Linked DNA regions of Homo sapiens: regions 1, 3, 4, 5 and 6 are each linked to region 2. Evidence: promoter capture Hi-C in 16 types of primary human blood cells and fetal thymus (Javierre and others, 2016). All regions are on one chromosome and are shown on one strand. The core of a region is centred on a gene start or on the middle of the fragment in contact, and the rest is flanking DNA. Distances in the headings are between cores, read along the strand shown. Region 1 overlaps ARPP19 (cAMP regulated phosphoprotein 19). Region 2 holds the start of RSL24D1 (ribosomal L24 domain containing 1). Region 3 holds the start of POLR2M (RNA polymerase II subunit M). Region 4 overlaps ATOSA (atos homolog A). Region 5 holds the start of ONECUT1 (one cut homeobox 1). Region 6 overlaps ONECUT1 (one cut homeobox 1).

Region 1 (4,197 bases), core at 737-3,236, 2.6 Mb before region 2:
AGTGTTTCTGCAGGTTTCCTCCATTTGATATATAAAGGAAAATACCTTGTACACAATCCGGGCATTCCCTTATTTTCTTTTTCTTTTTTTTTTGCCATGTTGGCCAGGCTGGTCTCGAACTCCTGACCCCAGGTCATCTGCCCGCCTCGGCCTCCCAAAGTGCTGGATCACAGGCATGAGCCACTGGGCCCAGCCGCATTCCCTTGTTTTCTTAATAAGGAATACATTGATATATCATATTAAGCATGCTTAATTAAATTAAAAAATGTTTGGGTAAAACAGCATCTATGAGCTGCAAATGTCATTTATATTTAGAATGAATTTATAACATGTCTTAGAAAAAAACAAGCCGATTCTTGAACTTTCTTGCCAAATACATAGCACAACTGAAAGCCCCTGCTAGCTGCAACTTCCTAACTGGATTCAGAATTTCAGTTGGATTTAACAGGGGGGAAAAGATGACCTAATCTAGATTTTTAAATGTGGTAAACACCATTAAGACTTCCACAAAAGTTTTCATGAATCCTACAGAAACATTCTACAGAGCTAGGCAGTTCTAGGACCTTAATGATAAGTTAGTTCAAGTGCTTGGACATGCATTAATATTCTGACAGTTACTGAGTTCTTATTAGGTTCTGTCAACGGCATCTATGCCAGATTAAAAGGCATGAGAGAAAGAATCCATTCTGCTCCTGGTGATGCCACCACCAACAGCAGACAGCAGTCGCCCCTGTGAGCTCCTACAGAGGGACATATGGCAGATAAACAGGGGCTCTAGTAGCAGCTACACGACAAGGGAGGCAGACGATGGTGGACTCTGAACAGTACTCATCCTTGCAGGGTCAAAGGCTTTCTGTAATCCTTACCTCTGGAAACACCATCTTCCTCCCTTTTGTTCCTCTATTCCTTCTAATAATTTGTAACCTTATTCCCTAAAAATCATATTCCTTCCTTTTTAAAAACATGCAAAGTGGTTTCTGCTCCTGTCTCCCAACAGGACACTGATAAAAGCAGGTAAAATAAGCGATTTATCCACAGTCATGTTCAAAAATGCAAAATAGAACACAATTTGATGTGACTCCACGTTTCTGGACCTCAAGGGAATTCCTAAACATTTACTTAAGCTAGAATGAAAACAAAGGGGAGATAAGCCAATAGTTATTTATTTGTTTATTTTTTCCAAAAAGAATCACAGAAAGATTAAATCATAAACTAATCAAGCTTTGGGTTAAATAGGTTAGGATGTAAGGGATAAAGGACAGGAATGACTATTACTAAACAAAGAAAATTGGTATATACATACACATATACTGATAACAAGTCAATATTGTAATTTTAATATCTTTATCATGTGGAGTTAAAAAAGAAAAGAATACTATAACAGTACCATATTTTTAGTTTAAGTGTTCTATGGTCCTGTATAATTTAGAAAAGGGTTTATAATCTTAATTTTTACATCTTGTTTAGTTAAGAATGCATGAAAAATTTCAAGGGGAACCAATTAAATAGCAGAAATAAAAAGGAGTGTTGGGGAGAGCAAGAAAGGAAGAAAAATAAAAAAAATTTTAAATACCAAAAAGAAACCAAACATAAGGAGAAACAAATCCCAATATGTTAATAACCACAATAACCATACTGAAGCAACAGACTGTCCATTTAAATCCAGTGGCTGGATTAAGGAAAAAAAAAAAACCTAGCCACTTGTGGAGTACACATTTAAAAAAATCTAAAAACAAGGACATAGGTTGAAAGTAAAAAGACTGAGGGTGGGTGGTGGTGGTAACATACCAGGCAAAAAATCCTTACCAAAACAGAGCTAGTGCAGTGCACCTACTTTTTTTTTTTTTTTTTTTTTTATTAAGATACATGGTCTTCCTATGTTGCCCAGGCTGGTCTAGAACTCCTGGCCTCAAGCAATCCTCCTGCCTTGGCCTCCCAAAGTGCTGGGACTGCAGGCGTGAGCCACTGTGCCACTAATAAAATGGCATGAAAATATACAAAGCAAAAACTGACAGAACTATAGGGAGCAACTGACAAGTCCACTACTATGGAATTCAACACAGCTTCCTCAATTATTGATAGCTATAAAAGATAAAGTAGTTAAGATACTTGATTTTAATTTTACATCTAACAATTAGGGAATGCATAGTCTTCCACAGCACAAATGGAAAAACTGACTAATACTAGGCCATAAAGCAAATCTTAACTATTTTCTTCCAGACCACCATCTATGACTGCAATTCATTAAAGTCAGTAACAACAAAAAAATTATAAATCTCTAATATTTAGAAATTAAAAACATACTTCTAAATAATTCCTGGTTAAAAAAGAAAGCACGAGTATTTAAAAAAAATAGGAGTTCTAGACCTACCCGGGCAACACAGTAAGACCTTGGCCTTTACAAAAAAAATTTAAAAATTAGATAGGTGTCGTGGTAGATGCTTATATGCCTATAGTCCTGGCTGCTTGGGAGGCTGAGGTGGGAGGGTCACTTAAGCCTACCCTGGGAGACAGAGTGAGACCCTGTTTCTTTAAAAACAAACAAACAAAACCCTACACATACCAAAACTTGTCAGGTATAGCAAGTATCTCTCAAGGGCTTATATCAGAGAAGAAAGCTAAATCTCAATGAGCGATGCATCCAATTTAAGAAGTTAGACAAAGAAAGGAGCCCAAAGAAAATGGAGAAATAAAAAGCAGAAATTAATGAAAAAGATACAATAGAAAGGGCCAACAAAGGGGGTGGATATGGCAAGCTTAAGAAGTTTTTTTTTTTTTTTTTTTTGAGACAGAGTCTCACTCTGTCGCCCAGGCTGGAGTGTGGTGGCACGATCTCGGCTCACTGCAACCTCCACCCCTCCCCACGCTGGGTTCAAGTGATTCTCCTGCCTCAGCCTCCCGAGTAGCTGGGATTACAGGTGCCCATCACCGCACCTGGCTGATTTTTGTATTTTTAGTACAGACAGGGTTTCACCATCTTGCCCACGCTGGTCTTGAACTCCTGACCTCGTGATCCATCTGCCTCTGCCTCCCAAAGTGCTGGGATTACAGGTGTGAGCCACCGTGAAGAAGTATTTTTTATGATTCAAATCTGGTTTTGAAGTTTCATTCTCCAAGAAGCCTTTGTGTTACACAGCAATTTTACTACATTTTAAAAATAGATGCTGTAATGTAAATGGATTTACTTAGGTAAGTAGCTTCTAAATTGATAATAGGGTCCGCAGAAGGCAGAATTCTGAACTTTTGGCTATTGGCTACAAGCTGGGAAAGGAACCCCAGGATATGGTAACACAGATACATGTTTACACACAGATACATGTATACGATGTATGTATCCAAAAAACAAAAACAAAAATCTTAAGAACAGTATTTTTAATAATAGTTATTGTCTCGGCATGTGCATTTTTGTGAATTGTACCACTGAAATACATCAGAAATCCTTTCTGTGAATAGGTGGGGTATAAGTTATAAATATATACACGTAAAAAGGACACTCAAATAACTAAGGATTATTTTGTAGTCTATTATACACTGAGCAGAATTATGTCTCAATGACTGATACCACTTTTCAGCCTTCGGCAGAGGAGGGTTATACAGCAACGTCAGCAATAAAAATCTGACCACTCTAAGCAAATTCTCCTCTATCTGCTCAGCAACATGTTGACTGATGCACTGATTGACGAATAACTAGAAAGGATTAATGAAAGCCAACAAATCCTTTGGGATACTGCCAGGAAGGTACCAATACTGTATCAAGCTCTATGGAAAATTACTGTTGTCATTCTATTAAGTCTTTGTTTGCCTAGTGCCTAGCATTTAATGAATGTTCAATAAAAGTTCATTCATCTGAATGAAAAAATACAATGTACTTGTTTCCATAAAGCTATAAAGCTAAGAAACTTTCTTCACACTTGAGGATTTCACCATCAGCTCATCTTTAATATTTTATGTTATAGTAAACACAGCTTCTGGATTAGAAGTTAAGTATTCAAGTCTTGCACAAACAAAAGAAGCAACCCTAACAAACTGTTGTATCGCAAACTGCTAAGACGGCTAAGAGAAACATTTAAAAACTTTTCTGAGGTTTACCTCTAGGCTGTTAGGAATCGATGGTTGCAGAGACCAAGGGAGCATGTTGTGTTCACTCTGAATAGAAATAGAAAACATGGATGAGGCGGTTGCTCACACCTGCAGTCC
Region 2 (4,396 bases), core at 406-2,905:
TAGGCCCACTGTACCTACTGTTAGGTACATCCAATGGAAAATTCAGATTTGGAGCTCAGGAGATTTAGGTTTGGAAATCAAGCATAAAAAAAGATGAGATACTTGTTCTTTGTTAGTGCTTCAGGCCCTCTATCTTTTATTTCCTCCAACAACTCTCTTCTGGATCCACTGGTGACTCCCAACCAACTCAACACTGTCCTTATTCTTCATCAACTTAACTTCCACTGTGTCTACCAAATCAATACCCAGGTCTTGACAGTTCTCACGATCTGTTGTTCTAATTCCAATATCCAGCCGACAAGCATCCTGGACGAAAATCACAAAATCGTAACGACATCATGTATAAAACCATACTGCCTACTCTGAATTAGACCCCAACCTGGCAATCTTTTGGTTCATTTTTATAAACTTCTTATCATGTTCCTGAGAGCAAGTATTCAAAATCTTCTAGGTTCTTTTACGTTATCAAACATGGCTTTGGTCCGTCACTTTCAGCTGAATCCCTTGGATCTAATTAATGAGGTCAATATCTTTGATCTGTTACAGAGATATAAGGTGAAGAAGTCAGACTTGTAATTATTTAGCACGTCAAATTCACCTTAATATACAGATTCTTAGACCCTCTTCCCCTCCCCCAAAGATTCCAACTCAATAGATCTGGTGAAAACCAGGAATCTGTAAACGCCCAGTAATTCAGAAGCAAACGTAAGAGATCAAATTCTGAGAAACAATGTGTTTCTCTGAGAAAGAGAGGAACGGGATTCATTCTGTAATGACAGGACAAATTCATGTACCATTCAAAACGTCTTTCACAACTAGGACTCATATTTATTATTTACGTTTACAGACTTATTATACTTGTAGCCCTACGCCCAAGGCTCTATCATCATTTACAATCCAGTCACTTCCTCAAACAAATGTATTTGCTCCGTTCTCTGCCTTTTCTCAAAATGTTCACTTTCCTTCCACTTAGAAGGCCCCCTCCGCTTTCTTCCGCAAAATTCAGGATCCAAGATAAATATCACCTCTATGCTGAGTCTTTCCGTACAGGACCCTCCCCAACTCACCTGCAGTAACTTAATACATAACTCTACCATTAAGCAATACGGAACACTTCCATCAACCTCTACACTTTAGTATGGACCTTAGTGTAATGCCTGACAGGGTATACACTCAACAAAGTTTACTGGATTCAAGAATTTGGCCCAAGTACATGAGTGGCCAAACAGCCCTCACAGACATCCAAGATTCCTGGTAGGCGCTAGCTGGGATCGCTCCTGAAGTTCCTCGCTGCCAACGCCACCCAAGGGTGGCGTGGTGGCCAGCGCCGCTCGGAAGACGGGCAAGGAGAAACCCCCGAAGCGGAACGTTGAGAACGGAGGCCCAGTTAAGCCACCCTCCCAGGGGAACAACGGGAGGAACCCGGGCCAAACACGGCAGACGCAGAAGCACCCAGCACCGAGCCGCCGCGCCCAGGAACCGCGGGAGCTAGGCTGAAGCAAGAACTGGTGTCGACCGCCTTACCTTGCAATCGTTGCGGACGAACATCATGCCGTGTCCAGGATAGATGGGCCCCGAACAGAAATAACACTTTTCGATACGCATGTTGAACCCGCGTGTAACCCCACCAAACAAACGCCAAGCTTGAGAGGAAGTGATGCAACCCCGTCACCGGAAGTTACCTTCTTCCCCCTTCCCCGACCGGAAAAAGGCAAGCGTCCTTCGTTCTCGCGGGTCTGTTAGACCAGATGCGAACACGACTGTGCCTCCGGCGGCCGTGTGGTCAAATGCGCTGCCGTTTGACGCAGGCGCAGAGCTGCAGACTAGACCTGTTCGCTGTTACTTTGGGGAAATGTGGTTCTGCGCCACCTTGTGAACTTGCTCTCACAGCGCCTAGTTTTTTCTCTCTGTGTGTCGGCATTTATGCAAGTATTATGTATCTTTGGTTTGTGCTTTGCCTCGGAGTGCTCTCGAGAGCACTCTCTTAACTCATTTGTCTACTGCCTGCCCTAGACCAGCCCTCGATTCTCGTCCCACAGTGATTTGCAGGGTGTAAGCGGCGAAGACCCTGCAATCCAGCGTTGCTTCGAACATTGCAATGAAAACGGTTGAGTTGCTGATGCTCCAAGGACTTTACCAGCAATTTTTTTAAATATAAAATCGTGTTATCCGCCTCCCCCCCATTTTAATTAATATGCATATGTAGTAAACAAATATTTTCGCCGGAAACTACGACTCCCTCCCTAGACCTGCGGTCTTCCTCCCCAGGGGCAAAACAGTTCCATTTATTACCTGCCAGAGCTTTTCTGTGCATAGGCAAACATGTATATTTGTGTGTTTGCCTGTCTCTACGTCCTCTTCTTTATAATACTAGTTAATATGCTATTTACTCTTTTCTGCATCTTGCTGTTACCTTGTATCCCTTCATTGGAATGTGAGCTCCATGAGGGGCAGGGATTTCAGTTCGTTTGGTTTACAACTACATCCCAGTATCTAGAACAGTCCCTGGCACATAATAGGCATTTGATACATATTTTACTGTAAAAGGGTATTTAACATTCTTTTTCATATATATATGCCATTGTATGAAAGTATTTTAATTGGTCACTAATCGATGGGCATTCTTATCTTTTGATATAATAAGTATCTGTTGGTACGCTTTTTCAGGAGAGGGTTTATGTAGAACTGCTGGATCAGAGGAGCTGGATATAGATAAATAGTTTTAAAATTTGGCAGATAATACTAAATTGCCTTCCAAAAGTTTTTACCAATTAACACTCAGCATCAACAAATAAGATGTCTGTTTCACTACCCCGCTGTGAAAAGTGATCTTTGCCAACCTGAGATGAAAATTTATCTTATTATTATTTCAACTTGAATTTAATTACAAATGATGTTAAGAATCTTTCACAATGTTTTTCAGCTTTTTTCTGTGAATTGCCTGTTCAGGTCCTACGCAGTTTTCTATTCTTTCGTTGATTTTCAACAGCACTTTACACGTTAAGGTTAGTCCTTTGCTGACATGCATTTAGAAATTATTTCCCTATCAATGTTTTAAGCTTTGCTCATGGTATTTTTCCATGCAGAAATATGTTGTTTATATATTCAGATTTATCCAATTTTTTTATGATTTTGGATTTGGTACTTTCCTTTAAACTGCACTTCTCACTCCAAAATTGTTTTTCAAAATGTTTTCTCTTATGTTTTGTAGTTTCATTTTTTTGCATTTGAATTTTCAACTCGTCTGGAATTTAAGTATAAATGACATAAGACTCCAGTGTCTTTCCCTCAGTGCTGTATGTTGATAAAGCATCCTTTCCCCCACTCACTCATAATGTCACATCTATGGCTCCATTTCTGGACTCAGTTCCATCGTTTTATTTGTTAATGTGCCACTGCCCAAATATTTAAATTATTGTCATTTTTTGAATAACTGGGTTTACCTCCTCTCCCTTTCTATTAGTTTTCATGCTGCTGATAAAGACATACCCTAGACTAGGCAATTTATACAGGAAAGAGGTTTAATGGACTCTTTATGGCTGGGGACACCTCACAATCACAGCAGAAGCCGAGGAGGAGCAAGTCAGGTCTTACATGGATGGCAGCAGGCAAAGAGAATGAAAACCAAATGAAAGGCGAAACCCCTTTAAAATAATCAGATCTCGTGAGACTTATGCACTATCATGAGAACAGTGTAGGGGAAACTGGCCCCATGATTCAATTATCTCCCACCAAGTCCCTCCCACAACACATAGGAATTATGGGAGCTATAATTCAAGATGAGATTTGGGTGGGGACACAGCCAAACCATATCACCCTTCCTTCCTTGTCCTTCTTATTCATTTTTTATCTGGCTATTCTTCAACATTTATCTTTTCATTTTAACTCTAGAATCAGTTTGTATAGTTATAATCTTCAAATACACACATTTTTCCTTTTATTGGATACTTTTTCTTGTCTAGTCATTCGACCAGTAATTCCAGAGTAATGTTAAATAACAAAGGCACATACCAGAAATTTTAGTAATAAACATCTGCCCAATACTTTATTGTCAACCAAGAGACTGAAAATTATTTTACTTTTCTTTACTCTTCCTCTCCTATCCTCCTCAACAATTATGGAAGAGCCTCACCAATCTTTGCAAACTTTACACAGTTCCTTCCCAACTCTGTTTGTTCCTACTACTTCACCAAGAAATTTTATACCCTTCCCATATACATGAACACCCAGGTTTACCCTCTTACCTTTGATGTCAGAGGCCACATCATTTATCTGTGTTCTTAATTTCATACCTTAAGGCTTCATCTGAGACTTTGTTCCCTTCAGTCCATGAACATATTCAGTGCTTCACTTTAGAATGAGTGTGTGTATAGCCAGCCTTAGAAATTGTTTTTTT
Region 3 (4,527 bases), core at 1,691-4,190, 2.5 Mb after region 2:
GGTCACGCTGGCGCTGAATACTTTTTGTATAAACCGACGAACAGCTGATGACCGCATGAATGCTCACACAAGGGGAAAGGGCGCCAAGCCAAGGAGCCGGCGTCATCCGACGTAACTTCCGCCCTTTAACGCTCCTGCGGACGCCCCCTTCTCCCAGTCCGTGTTTGTTTCCGGAATTTCAATAAAGCTCGATTCGGCTCGAAGAAGACCCCGTTCTTCCGGGAAAATGGCGACTCCCGCTCGTGCCCCGGAGTCACCGCCGTCCGCGGATCCGGCGCTAGTAGCGGGGCCTGCCGAGGAAGCCGAGTGCCCGCCGCCGCGCCAGCCTCAGCCCGCGCAGAATGTGCTCGCTGCCCCGCGGCTTCGAGCCCCAAGCTCCCGAGGACTTGGCGCAGCGGAGTTTGGTGGAGCTGCGGGAAATGTTGAAGCGCCAGGAGAGACTTTTGCGCAACGAGTAAGCTGGGGTCCCGCGGAGTCTCCGCCAGGCTCCTTCAGCTCGAGCTCCCTGGGCGCTCCCCTCCCCTCCCGCACTCTGTTCCCTTCCCTGGAAGGTGACTTTGACTCAGTCACATTCGCTTCAGTCCTACGGGCGAGTGGACGGAGGGCTTGCTGCGGCAGAGCCGTGCCTCTTCCTGGCCAGGCACGTATGCCTGCGAGGATAGCTCGGATTGAACGGCTACCTGGCGTTGCAGGGAGTTAGTAGCCCCTGGTCGGTTTTATTTACCCGGGGACTGTGGTGGTTCCATGAGTCTGCTTTCTAAACCCTTTTGTCGCCCGCACCCCTAACCCATAACAGATTGTCAGCTTCATCTCTGGATTCTAAGCTTACAGGAACCGTAGGAAATGGGAAGAGTGGGATATGAAGAGGGGTTTATTAGGCCGGGAAAGTTCGACCCTCATTCAGCTGGCTGGTTGAACGGATTTTAGCAAGGGAGCCACGTAATAAAAGTGATTTTGTTTTTTAGGCAGCTTTGTTCAGCAGCTTGTTGCAAAAGATGGTTTGAAGGAATAAAAAGCAGAAGACAGTAGAAGGATATTTTCAGAGAGACTTCCCACGAGACACTTGTAAGAAAGTGAGCTAGGAAGGGATTGGGAGAACTTTTAAGCATGGACTAATTTAAATGCAGTTGACAGAGATGGCTGAAGTTTCCAATCTATATGGAAGACCACTAGCAAAAATAGGAAAATTCAGGGAGAGGAATAGATCCAAGGTTGATTTTACTTAGGGTGTGCAGAGTTGAGAGGAGAGCAGGACAGACATTTGGTTAATCGAAAACCAAACACTTAAAAGCTGGAGAAGTAGTCATGAGGCTCAAGAAAGAGAGAACCCTGGAAAAATACAGAAAACAGGAATTTCAGCTGTAGAGTGTTGTTAATAGTTGAAATTGTGGGGATGAATGTAGTGTCAAAAAGAACAGAGGACTTAAGGTGTAATTTTTTCTTTCCATTTATTGTATAGTTAAAGAAAAGGGAATCAGAAAAGGAACTCTGTCATCCAGCAAAAGGGACAAATAAATAATTGGTTGGGATCAAGACATGTGTTTTGACCTTGTGAGAATAGGTTTTGAATGTATAGCAGTGAATTAACTTTTTGGTCTCAGGACTCCGTTATACTTTAAGAATTATTGACATCCCAAAGAGCTATTTTATGTGTTGTATCTAGCGAAATGTATTTACTTATCAGAAATACGTCTGAAGTCTTTAAAACATAAGCATACACAAGCACACATTCTATTCTAGAACAATGATGTCATCACATGCCATGTAGCCTCTGGAAAACTCCACTGTACCCATGCGAGAAAATGAGAGGGAAATAATATCTTAGTATTATTATGAAAGTAGTTTTGACCTAATAGGCCCATCCCCACACTCCACCCCATCCCCAAATTTTGGAGATTGCACTTTAATGACTGCTGGTTCTTGGAATGTCTTATGTGATTATTATATGCTTAAAATACTTTTGCTGAAATTCTAATTTGCTGAGACAAATGAGGCATATATTCCCTATTCTTCCTGCATTCCCTTGTTTTTTGGGCTATTTGGATAATGACCATTTTAATTGTTTTATTCTTGTTTTGGGGCAGTTAGAAATCAGATATTTGACTTAAAAATCAGCTTTTCTTTCTTTGAAGATAATGCCTTGCCTTTTTAATGTTATATCTCAAGTTAAAAAAATGGCTGTAATGTAATAGTATTCTTTTCCATTTGACAGAAAATTCATTTGCAAATTGCCCGACAAAGGTAAAAAGATCTTTGACTCTTTTGCCAAACTGAAAGCTGCCATTGCAGAATGTGAAGAAGTTAGAAGAAAAAGTGAACTGTTTAACCCTGTTAGTTTAGACTGTAAGCTAAGGCAAAAAGCAATTGCAGAAGTTGATGTGGGTACAGATAAGGCCCAGAATTCTGACCCGATACTTGATACTTCATCACTAGTTCCTGGATGTTCCTCTGTAGATAACATCAAGTCATCTCAAACCTCACAAAACCAGGGACTTGGACGTCCTACTCTTGAAGGTGATGAAGAGACTTCAGAGGTTGAGTACACAGTGAATAAGGGCCCAGCTTCCAGCAATAGAGACAGGGTACCACCTTCATCTGAAGCTAGTGAGCATCACCCGCGGCATCGTGTTTCAAGTCAAGCGGAAGATACTTCCAGCAGCTTTGACAACCTGTTTATTGACAGGTTACAGAGGATCACCATTGCGGACCAAGGTGAACAACAGTCAGAAGAAAACGCAAGTACTAAGAACTTGACAGGCCTTTCCAGTGGGACTGAGAAGAAACCTCATTACATGGAAGTGCTAGAAATGCGAGCCAAAAACCCAGTGCCCCAGCTGCGTAAATTTAAAACCAATGTGTAAGTACCCTCGGAAACAGGCCTGTAACAGGAACGTGATATTTGTTAAACTCAAAAATTTACGAGAAACTGGGTGTGGTGGTGCTTGCCTGTAGTCCCAGGCTACTCAGGAGGCTGAGGTGGGAAGACAGCTTTGAGTCCAGGAGTTGTAGACCAGCTTGGGCAATATAATAAGACCTTTTCTCTTAAATAAGTCAGGAGAATGCTCTAAGTTCCGTGGGCTTTGTATGAGAACTACTTGTAGTTAGGAAATAACATGTTGTGGCAACACTGAGACCAGCCTGGCCGGAGTAGAAGATTCATGTTGAAAAATATTTAGTTTTGAAACCAAATAATCGACAAGGTCTTTTAAAGCACATGGGGGAGTGTTAAATTTTAGGATGCTTAGCCAGTATTTCATAATAAACACAGAGTTGGAGAGAATTTATTATGACTTCTTTTTTTCAGAACCATTTTTTAGTGTACAGCTTTGATTAGTGTACTATCAAAGTGTACTCTCTTTGATTAGTCTGTGAACTAAGGGTAAAGCAATTGCAGGAGCTGATGGGCTTTCCAGCAGAAATTATTTGCATGCTCACTGTATGTAAGCAAGCAGCAGGTGTTGTGGGGACACAATTAAGTCAAGATTCTTAAAACTCCTTTGCCTTTTTTGATGTTAAATCTCAAGTTTAAAAACATGGCTGTAATGTATACATGTGTAATGTAATACAATACCATGTTCTTCAAGGAGTTTAAGAGCTACATGAGGACCCAAGGTTTACACACTTGGAAAAGAGTTAAGCTACATAATAATAACAGTTTCAGGGGGAAGGAAGCTGAGAAGAGGTTTGAAAAACTGTGAAAATAGATTCAGGCAGGATAGGCAAAAACTCTGCTTATCAGTTCCTTGCCATAAATTTGTTTCTGAAATTTCAGGAAAAGTAAAATCTTTTTGAAAATAATTGCTATTTACTTGCAGCAAATGTAACATTCAACTCAGGTAACTGGTACCTTCTTCCTATATTGTATTTACAAGTATGTAACATCAAAGTTAAATCACTACTACCTTTCTTTGAAAAACAGAAAACCTCTAGTGAAAAGTATCTAAAACATGCTTCTTTTTTGTTAGACTTTAATTCTACCCCAGCATTCATTTTAACCTCAAAACATTTTATTTCTGCTGTATAGAAAATCAGGATTATACTACATTAACGTGATCAAGTACTCTCTTGTGTACAGTGGGGTATCTTTCTTCACTTCCAGGATGACATTTTAGAAAACTAGAACCATCATCTAGTCAATAAATAAAACAAAGAATACATTAATCCCAGTTCTGTATTATGGTCATTTAGCTGGGAGTGGGAGAGAGGTAAGGGAATAGTGAAGAGGGCTACCAAGAATTCAGGAAGTTTAAGAGACAGGGAGCCTCCTGTATAAGTTAGAGGAGAACAGGAAAGGCAGGGCTTTGAGGAGTCCTTAGGCCATAGACAGGTAGGGATTGAGAGGGTTCCGTGTGAGAGGTGGCTTGGAGGTTGGAAGGTGGGGTCAGGTAGTGTCCTTTGGGTCCTTTCTGCTCTTCCTTCTGCATACTCTTCTGGCTTCATGTATCACCTGGATGCTGGAGGCTGACCCCTGTGCACCTCTATCCCAGATCTTCCCAGAACTTTAGGTTTGCATAGCCAATTAACCAT
Region 4 (4,569 bases), core at 1,206-3,705, 2.5 Mb before region 2:
GGCGTGCACCTGTAGTCCCAGCTACTCTGGAAGCTTAAGCAGGATGATCTCTTGATCCCAGGAGTTGGAGGCTACAGTGAATTATGATTGCATCACTGTACTCCAGTCTGAGTGACACAGTAAGACCCCATCCCATGAAAAAGAAAAAGAAAAAGTCTAACATGAGGAACTCTTCTGATTTTTCACCTATTTGAGCAAAGATAGAATTAACTATTAACAAATTGACTTTGGTTTACCTACTAAGAAGTACTGTTTCCAAGTACTACAATTTTGCCTTTTCATTATCCAAAAAAAAAAAAACCAGTATTGTTAGTCTGAGTTTAATATTTCCAGTTTTTAAAATCCCCAGCCTCAAAAAGGGTGAAAACATTTTCATAATTAGATCCAAAGGCGAGAAAGGCAAAAGAATATAAATATTCTTTAACAACTAATTTTTTTCTATATTTGTTCACAATGCAGAAGGCTCAGACCCCATGGGTTTCTTCAGTTCTTGAAGAGAAAATCAATTTTTAAGTCACTCTCCTTATATACACATTTGCCTTTCAGTTCTGCCTTCCAATTATCTTTTTTTTCTCATTCTTCAAAGAAATGACAGGGTTTAGTCCACTGAATCATTTCCTTCTTACTGGATGACAGGCAAAAACATAGATGGGGTATCTCTACGTCAACCCCTTTAGTATCTGAATCTCAGAAGTTGTATCAAGCCATTGATTATTTGACAGCTACTGATGCCAAGACTCATCAACATAAATGGATGAAAGAACAACAGTAGCCAGCTTTTAACTTGTGATCACACTGAATATACAAAACATGCAGCTGAATTAGCCCCCTTTTGTCTTCCTCAGCTTTCACTAACTGACTGGTTTCTTCTTTAGAAAATGTCCAAAAATAATAGCAGTTTACATTTGAATGCTAAGTGCCAGCCACTGTTTTAAGCATATTACACACATTAACTTATTTAATCCTCAAAATAACCATGAGCTGAGGTACTATTACTTTCCCTATTGTAAAGATAAAGCTGAGGCAGAGAGGACAAGCAGCTTTCCAAGATCACAATACTTACCAAATACCTGTTTGGAGTTTTCCTCAAGTATTTTTAAACCACTTTGGTCCCAAAATCTTATGGTATTTTAACATTACTTACTGCTACCAGTCAGGGAGCTTAAGAGCATATGCTCAAGTTCACTTCACATTTGAGCTTGCCCTTTTATTAGCTGTGTAACCTTGGGTAAGTTACCAAACTTCTCTATGACTCAGTTTCGTTTATCCATAAAACAGAGATGACAATAGCATCTATTTCCTTGAGTATCTGTGAGGATTAAATGAGTTATATATGTGAAGTACTTAAGACAGTGCCTGGCACATAGTATGAACAAGTATTAGCTGTTGCTACTCATACTATCATGACCACCTCTACCTGGGAATTTAGCAAAAGGCCGCTTTATTTAATCTAGTCAGTATTTCTTCTCCAACATCTGCCATTTCTTTTGTTTGATTTACATCAACTAACAATGAACTATTCTTAGCAAGCAATGCACCTAATTGCTTTGCTACATTTTTCTAGTCCTTAACACTTCTTTCCTATTTCACCTGCCCAGGAGTGAATTGTTTGAGGTTAACAGGGTTGCATTATGCTATAGTTAAGTTCATAAGCCACTGAAATTCTAAGGCTAATGTCTAAATTTGTAATATAGCCAAATGGAGGAAAAAACTAAGCACTTCTCTATTTTAACCTCAAAAACAAAAACCACAAAATAGTGTGGTGTTTTGTTTGTGGAACAGATTTTGCACTACTAGTTTTAACTTAAAGATCAACAGCCTACAATGTTTTTAAATATGAATTAAAACAGTAGATTTAAATTACTAATTTATGATTTATTTTATAGGTCTTAATCTTTCATAGCAGTTTTGATTAAGCTCAGATATTAAAAATACAAAATTAGAAATACATTTAGAACATAACCTAATATGTTTTTAATTACCTCTACACTAAGACCACATTTTATTTATTTTTAAATAGAGATAGGGTCTTGTTATGTTGCCCAGGGTGGTCTCGAACTTCTAAGCTCTAAGCAATCAACCCTCCTCGGGCTCCCAAAGTGCTGGGATCACAGGCATGAGCCACCGCAACAGGCCGTGGACCACACCTTAGACTTCTCTTGAAACACCAGGTATTCAATATACACACAGGTCTAGAACCAGGTCCAAACTTGTACATCCTTGAGTCAAAGGTGGAATAACATTAAATTTTCCAGCTGCCCAGCTCTAGTCAGCTGTTAACATCACTTAAAAATCTAATTATTCCAGAAAGCTTAGTCCACCCATGTCATCCTCTACATATAGAAGCCATAATTGTAATAGCAAATGACAATATAAATACATTATACATATACTGCAAGTATCCTTCTGTAGCTTTTATATTTTCTCAGATAACTATATATTAAAAAATTATTAATCTGCTCGAGCCTTAGCAGTTTGAACACTATCAATGCAAAACAGAACAAAATAGCATTAGGTTATTAAACATTTCATTATTTATTTACCTTTGTTGAGTATATCTTGTAATTGACCAATATATAAGCATTTGTAATGCTTATATATAAGCTTATATAACCAGTATATAAGCATTTGTAATGCTTATATATAAGCTTATATAACCAATATATAAGCATTTGTAATGTTTATTTAACATAATAAACGATATTATTTATTTAATATCTGCTATGTGCCAAGCACGGTCATATTTCATTCTAACTGTGAGAAGTTGGAATTATTCCCATTTTACAGACAAGGAAACTGAGACTCTCAGAGATTATGTGATGAAGATTAGAGAGCAAGCAAGTAATGGAACAAGTATAAAAACACAGGTCTGCTAATGACAACATCTAAGACTCATCTTTGGCAGTGTTACCCAAGTAATGTTATATTATTGCTTAAAATTAATTTTTTTTACAGTACAGTAAAATACTATCGTACAGTAAAATACTATCGACTATTGTGAAATCTATCATGCTATACCATAACATCTTATTTCAAAGTACAGTAGAAACTCCTGACCTTCAGATAATTTTTTTCTATTGGCTATCAGTTTGTTTTTATGGAGGCTGTAGGGAGCAGAATTGACCAATGCTCCCCACACCTTCCATAAAAACAGCCAATAGAAAAAGAATTAAGGCATTTTTCCTGACCCCCACCTTAAACTTTTACAGTTAGCCAACCAACTACCACACCCAATCATGTACGATAAGAGGCTATTGTATTTATTTAGAAACTTTAACTCTTTGAAGCACAGCTGTCTTTCACAAAACTATAATCTGAGTCTCTACATTAAAATCCACACTTTACTCACACTCTGAATGAGCATCTGAGAAGTTCTCCTATTTATGTTCATCTTATAGAAAACTTAGTGTTAGGCCGGGCGCGGTGGCTCACGCCTGTAATCCCAGCACACTGGGAGGCCGAGGCGGGCGGATCACGAGCTCAGGAGATCGAGACTATCCTGGCTTACACGGTGAAACCCTGTCTCTACTAAAAATACAAAAAATTAGCCGGGCGTGGAGGCGGGCGCCTGTAATCCCAGCTACCGAAGGCTGAGGCAGGAGAATGGCGTGAACCCGGGAGGCGGAGCTTGCAGTGAGCGGAGATTGCGCCACTGCACTCCAGCCTGGGCGACAGAGCGAGACTCCGTCTCAAAAAAAAAAAAGAAAAAGAAAAAAAAAGAGAGAAAACTTAGTGTTAAGTACGGTTATCTAATTATCTAGCTCAGAGACTAAAAGCAGGAAAATTAAAAGGTGACAAGGATAAATATATTAACAACAAAAACTGTTGACAGCCAGGGAACATAAAAATCAGAATAAAAAAAGATAGGCTGAGATGGTTTAAACTAGAGACAAAAAAATCTCAAACCAGAAGCGTGAACATTTTTTAAATGTCTCCACATATCATGATTACAACTAAAAATATTTTGACGTTTAAAAAGTTTCAATTATCCAGAAAATTCATTTATATAGGATAGTTCTTTGGACACCAATGTAGTTTAAAAAAAAAAATGAAGTGTAACTGTTTTCTCGTTAAGAGTTGTCCATAACTCTGCCTTTCAAATTGCAGGTCATCATGACCCATTAATTGGTGAAGAAATCAATTCAATGGGTGGTGACAGCAATTTTTCAAAACGTGAAATAGAATAGAAAATACAACATTACATTGCGCACAGTAAGGGTAAGTACGTTTGTGAAAAGCTTATTTCAATATTTCTGTACTAGTTTGCTAAGTAAAAGATTACTTACACTGGTTTTAGTAAAAGAAAAAAAAAGCCATGGGTCTAAAGGTTTATGTTATTATTATGGAATATAATCACAATACTAAACTCACAATCCCATCATCTTTACCTGAGAATGCTAAAGAAAGCTACAATTTTTAAGGTGAAAACTTCTTTGGAAATCTTGATGAATAAATTTGTTTCCCCTAAAAATCTATATCAGTACGTAACTAAACATTTTATTGTGTTTAACACTAGTTTTGGCTGCAAATACTATTTTTAAAACTGCTTATGACTGTAAAGCAACTTTT
Region 5 (4,050 bases), core at 171-2,670, 2.4 Mb before region 2:
GGAGCGGCAGAGCACCCTCTGCGCGAAGATGGCCTGTGGGATGCTGTAGCGCTTGAGCTCGGTGGTGATACGCTGCGCCACCTCTTTGGTATTGATCTCTTCCATCTGCCCTGAATTACTTCCATTGCTGACCTGCGCGCCGGTCACCGAAGGGTTGGGCTCCCGGGCTGTGCCCAGGAGTTGCCCGTGGCCCTGGGCGTTCAGGTGGGCGTGGGGATGGTGCGGAGGAAGGCCGTTGATGGGCACCATGCCGGCCGAGGTGGGCGTGAGGTGCTGCTCCCCGTGGCGGCCGAGCATGGCCGGGTGGTGGGCTTCGAAGCCGTTGGGGGTGAGCATCTTGTCGGTGGGCATGGCGGCCCCCGGGTGGGCATAGTGGGGGAGCCCTTGCTGGGAGTTGTGGATGCTGCCCAGACCGGAGCTGGAGAGGGGCGAGAGGCTCTGGCCCATGCCGGCCACGTCCTTGTGGTAGGGGGTATAGAGGTTATTCATGGAGGCCAGCCCGCGCTCATCCCGCATGAGCGTGAAGCTACCGCTCACGTTGCCCGCCAGGCGCTGGTGGTGGTGCGGGTGGTGGTGGTGATGGTGGTGGTGGTGATGGTGGGGGAACTTGTCCGAGACTGTGGAGATGGGAGGCAGCGGCTGCAGAGGGGTCAAGGTGGTGTAGGTGGTGGGCATGCTCATACCTGGGGGAGTCTCGCAGGCCATGGTCATGGTGGGATGCAGGGGGCCGGCCAGGCTGTGCTCAGGGGCCCGGTGGTGGTGGTGGTAATCTCCGCCGCCGCTGCCGCCGTCCAGCAGGGACGCCATGCCCATGGAGCGCGGGTGCGCGGGGGGCAGGTGGCTGCCGCGGTGCGCCACGGAGCTGCGCGCGTGGGGGCTGCCGCCCAGCAGGTCGGCAGGGGCGGGCACCGGCTCATGGCTCACCCCGTGCAGCTCGCCGATCGCTTCCATGGTCAGCTGCGCGTTCATCGTGATCCGGGCGAGCAGGCGGCGGACACAACATCGATGTGGCCAGGCAGAGGCGGCGAGGGGCGCACGGAGTCCGGTCTTCACATCGGCTGCTGGCGACTGTTGCCTTCCTTCCTCTCACTGTGGGGCTCTGTCTCTCTCTCTCTCTCTCTCCGTGTGTGTGTGTCCGTGTGTGCGTGTGCGTGTGTGTGTGTGTGTGTGTCTCGCCTTCCCTCTTACCCCCCACCTTCCCCTCTGCGTCCTCGGCTTTTTTTTTTTTAATATTAATTTCCAAAGAGGATCCGCGCCGTTGGGAGAGCGCAGTGCCCCAGCCCGCCCGCCTCGGCCACCTCTCGCCCCTCTCTTTCTTAAAATTCTGAGGTCTCCGGCTCCCCTGCCGCGGCCCGCGCGCCTGCCGCGTCTGCTGCCTGCCCGCCCCGCTGGCCAGCTTGAGCCATGGCTCTGTTACTGTTACAGACTCTGTGGCCGCGGTTCGGTAGCCGCCGCCGCCGCCGCCGCAGCGGCCCGCCCTCACGCCCGCCAGGCGCAGCGCGCATGCGCGAGGCCCGCCCCCGCCCCCTAGGTCGCGGCGCGCCAGGCCCTTGGCGTCCCGGTACAAATGAAGGAGGGGGCCCAGCGCCTTCCCTGCGGCGCTGGATGGCCAGGGAGCTGCGGGCACGTGCGAAAGATTGGCGCAGAGCGCGACCTGGGGCCGCCGCTGCAATCCCAGGAGACTCGCGCCTGGCTCGCTCGCCTCCCTTGCTTGAGTGGGCTCTGTCCTCCCAGCCCGGGGACGCTCGTGTCGGGCTTCTAGCGGCTGGAGTGCTGTGCTTGGAGACATCGCCCCTCTCTCTCCAGTTGCTGCTTCCCGGTGCAGCTTGCCCGGGGAGCTGGGGACTGTGTCATCACCCCTTCGGCTCTAGCCCACTAAGCTTTATTTCCCGGGGGGCTGCTGGGAGTGCGCTTTCCCACCCTTGAATTCACGGCCTATTGGGGGATGGGGGTTGGGGTGGGGTGGGGTGCAGATTGCTTAAAGGGCTGGGTCCGTTTGGCGGCCGTTGACCCGGCACCCTTCGTCCTCCCAGATACATACTTGCCCACCCTTTCTCATCCATGCCCTGGGGAGAGGAGTAATCAGTGCCAAGAATCCCAGTTCGGGCCATACCTCACTGTCCCCCGCCGCCTGGCTCCTTCTCCCGCTCAGCTCATAATTAAGGCTGTGCGTCCGCTTCGCCGATGACTCGGCCTGTGGAGGGGGGCGAGGGAGAGCGGAGGGAGTGCCCTGGAGGGTACCCATGTTAACTTCCGGGTGCTGGTGGGGCCGTGGAGGCTCGGGCCGTCCCTGCGGTTACTCCCAAGGCCCTCCTGCTAAAGCACCCGGAGGCGGTTGCTTTCCAGAAGTACTGACGCAGACAGGGTGGACGCCGGCGCGCGGGTCTCCGCTTGGCCCCTAGGGACGCCCTTTTCCCGGCGTCCCCGAGAGACGCCTCCAGATTTGAAAATCAATTCAGCTTCGGGAGTAATTTCGCCCTTCCCACAGTCACGCTCCAATCTGGAATCGAACCTGGTCTTTGGGCCTGGTGGGGACGTGTGCGGAGGCCCCCAGTTTGAGACGTACACCCGGCCGCCACATGCCGCGGCTTTCTTTCATTTACAAAAGAAAGAAAAAAAATCCGCAACAAAAGGCAGAGCCGTGTCCGCTTAGGTGCTTTCATCCCTCAGAGAAAGGACAGATGTGCCCATTGTCCAGCCCGTGGCAGTTATGGCCGGGTCAGCGCCGAGCCTCAGCCCCAGGCAAGCGGTGGTTACAATGAGAATAGCCTCTCAGAGCCGGGGTATCTGGACTCAGATATGGAATAAAGTGTGTGTAGCCTGTGCTGGGCCAGACTCAGACTGTAGGTTTGCTTGCTGGGGCACCGAACTGCAGCCCACCCGTGGTGTTTCCACTGCAAATGCTCCCAAGCCCTTAGAGAGGCCAAGGCTGTGGTAGTGGTGGTAGTTGGGTTTCCAAGGCAAAAGTTTGGGCTGGCCAACCCTTTGGGAAAAGTTCCCACCGGCCCAGGCATGAGTAGGCCTATCTCTTTGCCCAGGTCCCTGCTACCACCAGGGCAACATCCTAATCCAGGTAGGTCAAGTTCAGTGGATACAGTCAACGTGACTTCCTTGAAGGCGGCCATGTCCTGGGACTGGTTAATCTAGCTGGTTTTATCACCAGAGGCACTCCCATCCTGTCCAAACAATGCATATGGAGGCCCTGCAAATAATTCATCTCAATGGATTTCATGTCTACTTTCATAATGAACAGTTAGGAATTTAGGAACCCCCAGAGAAGAAAAGATATTTTAGGGAAAATACACTGATGTAAAGGAACTCAGAAAACACGATTAACTCTTTAAACTTGTATCTATATCTACCTATTCATACACGCATACACACAAGCACAAAACATATATTTCCTGCCTAGTATATTACAGTACCTTGGTGGAAAGCTGCATCTTTGGTTTTTAATTGTTTCCATTCTCATTTCCTACAGCATGAGACCAAACAATGGGTTAAAGTAGCAGGGAGTCTTTCAGCTAAACAGTTGTCCCCCCGCCCCCGCCCCAATATTTTAATCCCGCTGAAGTGATTGATTTGCCCTTATGACAACTATCTTCCCAAAAGGCAGTTTGTTAAAAGAAAGAAAGAAGTAAATACCACCAAGTGCACAAATTGTTCATGGTTTTCTCTTTGTGTAGCTAATTAGGAACTTGATCTTGGAAACCCTCCTTCATGAGAGGCACTCAGCTGAGCCTCTGGAGTCCACCTGAATAAGGCTGGCATCAGGTGAGCTCAACTTCCCCTCTCCCCCAAGGGCATTTATGAAAAGGGGGGCTGGCTCTGTGTTGGTCCCTAAAGAAGGAGCCAACGAAAAGACCTGGAGAAGCACCATATGTGTTGGCTTGCTCAGTAATTTTTGATTTTTTTCTAAAACATTAAAATATTGTATGTGCAGGATTTGCTTTGGTTTGCAAATCTCCCTAATCTTTCTTGGCTATTCACACCATTTATCTAACCATTGTTCTCCCGTAATTGACTGAGTTGCAGTGGTTTCTCAGTCAG
Region 6 (4,551 bases), core at 976-3,475, 2.4 Mb before region 2:
AAAATATAAGTACACATATTCATCATAGATCCTTTTATAGTAGTGAAAACTATAGGGAGTTAATCAATGAATTATGGTAAATTTGTGTGTGCAAAGACTTGCTTACCTATGACTACATCCCCAGAATCTAGCTCAGTGCTTGGTCTATATATGAACATTTATTGAATAAATGAACAAATAAATATAGTAGAAAATTCTATAGCCATTAAGAATGATGATGTAGATGTATATTTATTGCAGTGGAAAACTATTCATCCGATCTTACAAAAAGGACAAGCAGATGACAAAACTGCATAGATAGAATCATCTCATTTTTGCATAAAAAGCAAGTGTGTGTGTGTGTGTGTGTGTGTGTGTGTGTGTGTCTGTGTATATATCTATGGAAAAAAGTTTAGAAGAATGTATACCAACATATAAATTGTGTTTCTTCCTAAATGGTGAGATTATAGATGTTGTTTGCATTCTTATTTATATCTTTAAGTAATGTCTGTTTTTTTTTACAATGAGCATGTATTAACAGATGTAATTTTGATAATCACTAAATTTTTTTTTTTCATTTTTGTTCCATAGGTTATTGAGGTACAGGTGGTGTTTGGTTACATGAGTAAGTTCTTTAGTGGTGATTTGTGAGATTTTGGTGCACCCATCACAGGCAGATATTTTAAACAAGCTTCTCAGTAATTTGGATGCCCAATAAATTGGAGAGCCACTTGCTCCTAGGACAGTATTTTAGACCTTTCCAAGCTCAAGAGAATTACTCCATACTTTGGCAAAAACACAGGCTGACTAAATCAGAATCTTAAGAGTGGCCTGGGAATCTGTGCTTTGAGAAGAATACCAGGTAATTCCTGTGAGTTCAGGTCCAGGAAAGCCTGCTTTGTGGGATCTTTCTGTGGGACTGGGCCCAGGTAACCCTCCTCTCTCCCCACAGTGAACTTGTACTTGTAAAACCCAGCTGCATTGATTGTCATAGACAACCTGGCAGAGGAAAAAAAAGCGAGATGTGGCCGGGTGCGGTGGCTCACGCCTGTAATCCCAGCACTTTGGGAGGCCGAGGCGGGTGGATCATGAGGTCAGGAGATCGAGACCATCCTGGCTAACACAGTGAAACCCCGTCTCTACTAAAAATACAAAAAATTAGCTGGGCGTTGTGGCACACACCTGTAGTCCCAGCTACTTGGGAGGCTGAGGCAGGAGAATCGCTTGAACCCGGGATGCAGAGGTTGCAGTGAGCCAAGATCGTGCCACTGCACTCCAGCCTGGGCGACAGAGCGAGACTCCATCTAAAAAAAAAAAAAAAAAGCGAGATGTGTGTGAAGTTTGTTCACGGAGTTCATTGGAGGCAGAGGGTTTTGTTCTGTGATTATGATGAAAGAGGAAGTTGGGTGAGAATGGAGGAAAAGATCAGAGTAATGGCTGTGAGCTTTTTAGCGCTAATTGACAGGGCCTCCTTCATCTTGACTTGTCTGAATTTACTGCCAAGTGCCTAACATGGAAGGGAGGGAGCTGTGGGACTGAAGGGCATCCCTGTGGGCAAGTAAGTGTATCTCATGCCCAGAAAGAGGAAGAACAAGGTTTTTGTGCCACTCCTTATTATCCACCGGGCTGGCTCCAAGAGATGAACTAAAGAACTGGAGGGTTTTTGTTGTTTTTGTTTTAATTTCTGCAGCTCCACACCCATGCTGTGACAGGAACCCTATTAGTTTGTACTGGGCTTGTTTTAGGGTTGTTACATTTAGAGGATGTTTAAAGTGTTATTTTATATAATAAGACGTGGCATGAGTGCACACACACATACGCATATAACAAACCCAAGCTGCATATTTTGGCGTGTGCTTATCAAGCTGTAACATGCATTAGAATCACTTCCAGGGCTTGTTAAAACGTGACAAGCCAGAGTTTCTAGCCAGAGTTTCTGATTCCATAGGATTTCTAACAAGCTCCCAAGTGATGCTGGGGCGTGGGTATGGCAGGTGGGGTGGGGAGAGAGAACTGCAAATGAATCTTAACTAAAACATTTTTAAGCAGGTTTGTTTATTTTATGGGTATGGGCAAAGCAATTTTGAAATGATTTTAGATGTATTACAGGATTGAGCAAATGAGTAAATGTGTGTGTGAGAGAGACAGAGAGAGAGAAAGAGAGAGAGAGAGAGGTAGATTACTGGGTACCAGAGTTCCCACTGTGCAGGAAAAGACATATAAATAGGGAATGGGGGAAGGCAGGGAAAAATCCTCTGAGGATATATTGCAATTGGAGGTGGAGGTACTGGTATGAACTAATGATTTTAGAAATACGTACATGAGCACGTATATAAGCATGTTTATGCGTACATGGATATTATGTATGTATGATGTGTATACACATATTTGTATGTGTGTGTAAATAAATGTATATGTATCTGTTTCCTGGCTTTGTCTGAGAGGGTAGAAAACCAAAAGTCACCCTAAAGCCATGAGCACACTTAGTGCCTAGGCTGTCTTGGACTCTAACATGTTTCCCCACCAGGATAAACCAGGGCTCATCAAAGAAGTGGCACATTCTAGGATTGGGGCAGAATATGTACCAAATGAGCTTGGAACATCTTATGATGCCAGAAAGTTAAAAAAAAATGTAAGCATTGTCATAGGGACACAGGAGTCAGAGGGAAAGGGCTCTCGTCAGTGAAATCTGGGACAATTTGAGCACCAAAATAGTTAAGTACAGTAATGAATTGTAAGCCACTGGAAAAAAAAGGAATGCCTGAGTCCACTCCAATCATAAATGGATAATGAGAGAGAAGGAAGGCTCTTGCAAATATCCTCTCTCTCTATCTATATGTTGAATAAATGAATGCTATTCATGATATATTTGGGAAAGGACAGGGATGATGGAATTACCAGAGATTTTTTATTGTCTCCATTATTCTTTTATGTGTTTTCAAATACTCCACCATAAATTTAATAATGGGATTTTTTAGTTTGAAAAGTTACAAAGTAGTAGTATGTACCATCCCATAGGGAAAAGATTGGAAGGATACACACACACACACACACACACACACACACACACACACACACAGAGGGTTATCTGTGTGGGGTGCTGTGGGTGATTCTTTTATTTTTTTTCTTTATTAGTGTTTTACCCTGCAGCTCCAGCTCAAAGGATGTATATAATACTAATAATTTGCAACAAGAAATGAAGTTATTTATTTATTTATTTATTTATTTTTTGAGACAGAGTTTCGCTCTTGTTGCCCAAGCTGGAGTGCAATGGCTTGATCTTGGCTCATTGCAACCTCCGCCTCCAGGGTTCAAGTGATTCTCCTGCCTCAGCCTCCCAAATAGCTGGGACTACAGGCAAGCGCCACCATGCCCAGCTAATTTTGTATTTTTAGTAGAGACGGGGTTTCACCATGTTGCTTAGGCTGGTCTTGAAATCCTGACCTCACGTGATCCTCCCACCTCGCCCTCCCAAAGTGCTGGGATAACAGGCGTGAGCCACCGCACCTGGCCAGAAGTTACCTTTTAAAAAAGCATTGAAATTAAAACATAAATTAAGAAATAAGATACAAGGTGCTTGAACATGGTAAGTATCAAACAAATGTTAAAAAAAATTTACTAAGGCTATGTCATGACAAAAGCAGAATTCAAAAAAGTATATATAAGCGGTACAATAATTAACTTTTTGGAAAAAATCTCCACCCTTGTGTTGAGGGTAGTGCTCCAAAATGATATTGTAGTTGTGTCTGAGTGTATTTATTACTTTAAAAGAGGAAACTGTATGGTAGATATAATGTTTTATAAGCTTGCATTTTGAACATCTTTCACACATTGAATTGTCTTTCATAAAAGAGCTAGAATAAGAGGTTGAGGTGGGCAGATCACCTGAGGTCAGGAGTTCAAGACCAGCCTGGCTAACATGGCGAAACTCTGTCTCTACTGAAAATACAAATTGTAGCCTGGTGCAGTGGTACACACCTGTAATCCCAGCTACTCGGGAGGCTGAGGCAGGAGAATCACTTGAACCCAGGAGGCGGAGGTTGTAGTGAGCTGAGATTGCGCCACTGCACTCCAGCCTGGGTGACAGAGCAAGACTGTCTAAAAAAAAAAAAAAAGAGCTAGAATAAGCTAGAATAAGGGGACCACCACTGAAGCACTTGGGAGCATTTTCAACCTACGCAGAGGGGTGGTCACCCTGTACTACTTCTCTTTTAATTTCATTACTCAGATAATTGCACTGGGCAGCATCTTCTAGGGAGGCAATTTTCTGGCCAAATAATTAAAAGAAGTAAGAGCCATTTAGTACTTTCCCTAGAAAGTTATCTTTTGGGAGATGGGAGAGGCCCTTGATTATTTTTAAAGAGGAACACACACACACACACACACACACACACACACACACACACTCTTAAAGAGCCATAGACTATCTCTTAAGAATATACAAGAAACTGGTAACAGGGGTTTCTTCTAAGGGAGGGGGACTTGGGGACTTAGGGAATATGATTGGGAGGAAAACTTGTTTTTTTCTGTATACATTTTCATGCTGTTCAAATTAAAATAATGATGTGCATT

The links. The method cuts DNA at HindIII sites, captures the fragments that hold promoters and counts their contacts. A CHiCAGO score of 5 or more calls a contact.
Region 1: a contact is called between a fragment that was not itself captured here and the fragment with the promoter of RSL24D1 in region 2, in 2 of 17 cell types (total CD8 T cells and activated CD4 T cells). The highest score is 6.1, in total CD8 T cells.
Region 3: a fragment that was not itself captured here is called in contact with the fragment with the promoter of RSL24D1 in region 2 in 4 of 17 cell types (naive CD4 T cells, non-activated CD4 T cells, naive CD8 T cells and 1 more); the score reaches 12.0 in naive CD4 T cells.
Region 4: a fragment that was not itself captured here is called in contact with the fragment with the promoter of RSL24D1 in region 2 in 2 of 17 cell types (activated CD4 T cells and total CD8 T cells); the score reaches 5.9 in activated CD4 T cells.
Region 5: a contact is called between the fragment with the promoter of ONECUT1 here and the fragment with the promoter of RSL24D1 in region 2, in 12 of 17 cell types (total B cells, M0 macrophages, M2 macrophages and 9 more). The highest score is 25.5, in total B cells.
Region 6: a fragment that was not itself captured here is called in contact with the fragment with the promoter of RSL24D1 in region 2 in 2 of 17 cell types (total B cells and endothelial precursors); the score reaches 6.9 in total B cells.

What each region holds. Positions count from the first base shown.
Region 1 is chr15:52,560,101-52,564,297 of GRCh38, forward strand. All of the region lies in intron 1 of ARPP19 (cAMP regulated phosphoprotein 19), which reads right to left. Among named protein-coding and RNA genes, the nearest start is that of ARPP19, 6.8 kb to the right of the region's middle. The HindIII fragment of the contact is 1,535 bases long and covers 1,220-2,754 here.
Region 2 is chr15:55,195,286-55,199,681 of GRCh38, forward strand. It overlaps RSL24D1 (ribosomal L24 domain containing 1), which reads right to left and starts at 1,656. Exons shown (of 6, transcript NM_016304.3): 1 at 1,525-1,656. The coding sequence starts at 1,605. RefSeq lists enhancers at 776-1,667, 1,461-1,620. The HindIII fragment of the contact is 1,416 bases long and covers 1,642-3,057 here.
Region 3 is chr15:57,706,502-57,711,028 of GRCh38, forward strand. It overlaps GCOM1 (GCOM1, MYZAP-POLR2M combined locus), which reads left to right. Exons shown (of 17, transcript NR_104371.3): 15 at 2,213-2,857. It overlaps POLR2M (RNA polymerase II subunit M), which reads left to right and starts at 213. Exons shown (of 4, transcript NM_015532.5): 1 at 213-454; 2 at 2,213-2,857. The coding sequence starts at 342. RefSeq lists an enhancer at 108-327 and a silencer at 648-697. The HindIII fragment of the contact is 4,237 bases long and covers 823-4,527 here.
Region 4 is chr15:52,672,215-52,676,783 of GRCh38, forward strand. All of the region lies in intron 2 of ATOSA (atos homolog A), which reads right to left. Among named protein-coding and RNA genes, the nearest start is that of ATOSA, 4.9 kb to the right of the region's middle. The HindIII fragment of the contact is 293 bases long and covers 2,310-2,602 here.
Region 5 is chr15:52,788,916-52,792,965 of GRCh38, forward strand. It overlaps ONECUT1 (one cut homeobox 1), which reads right to left and starts at 1,421. Exons shown (of 2, transcript NM_004498.4): 1 at 1-1,421. The coding sequence starts at 969. LOC105370824 (a long non-coding RNA gene) reads left to right here and starts at 1,515. Exons shown (of 2, transcript XR_001751550.2): 1 at 1,515-3,774. RefSeq lists enhancers at 1,417-1,711, 1,708-2,476, 2,477-3,244 and a silencer at 1,459-1,528. The HindIII fragment of the contact is 8,870 bases long and covers 1-1,878 here.
Region 6 is chr15:52,771,108-52,775,658 of GRCh38, forward strand. The region is part of intron 1 of ONECUT1 (one cut homeobox 1); the gene reads right to left. Among named protein-coding and RNA genes, the nearest start is that of ONECUT1, 17 kb to the right of the region's middle. The HindIII fragment of the contact is 3,114 bases long and covers 669-3,782 here.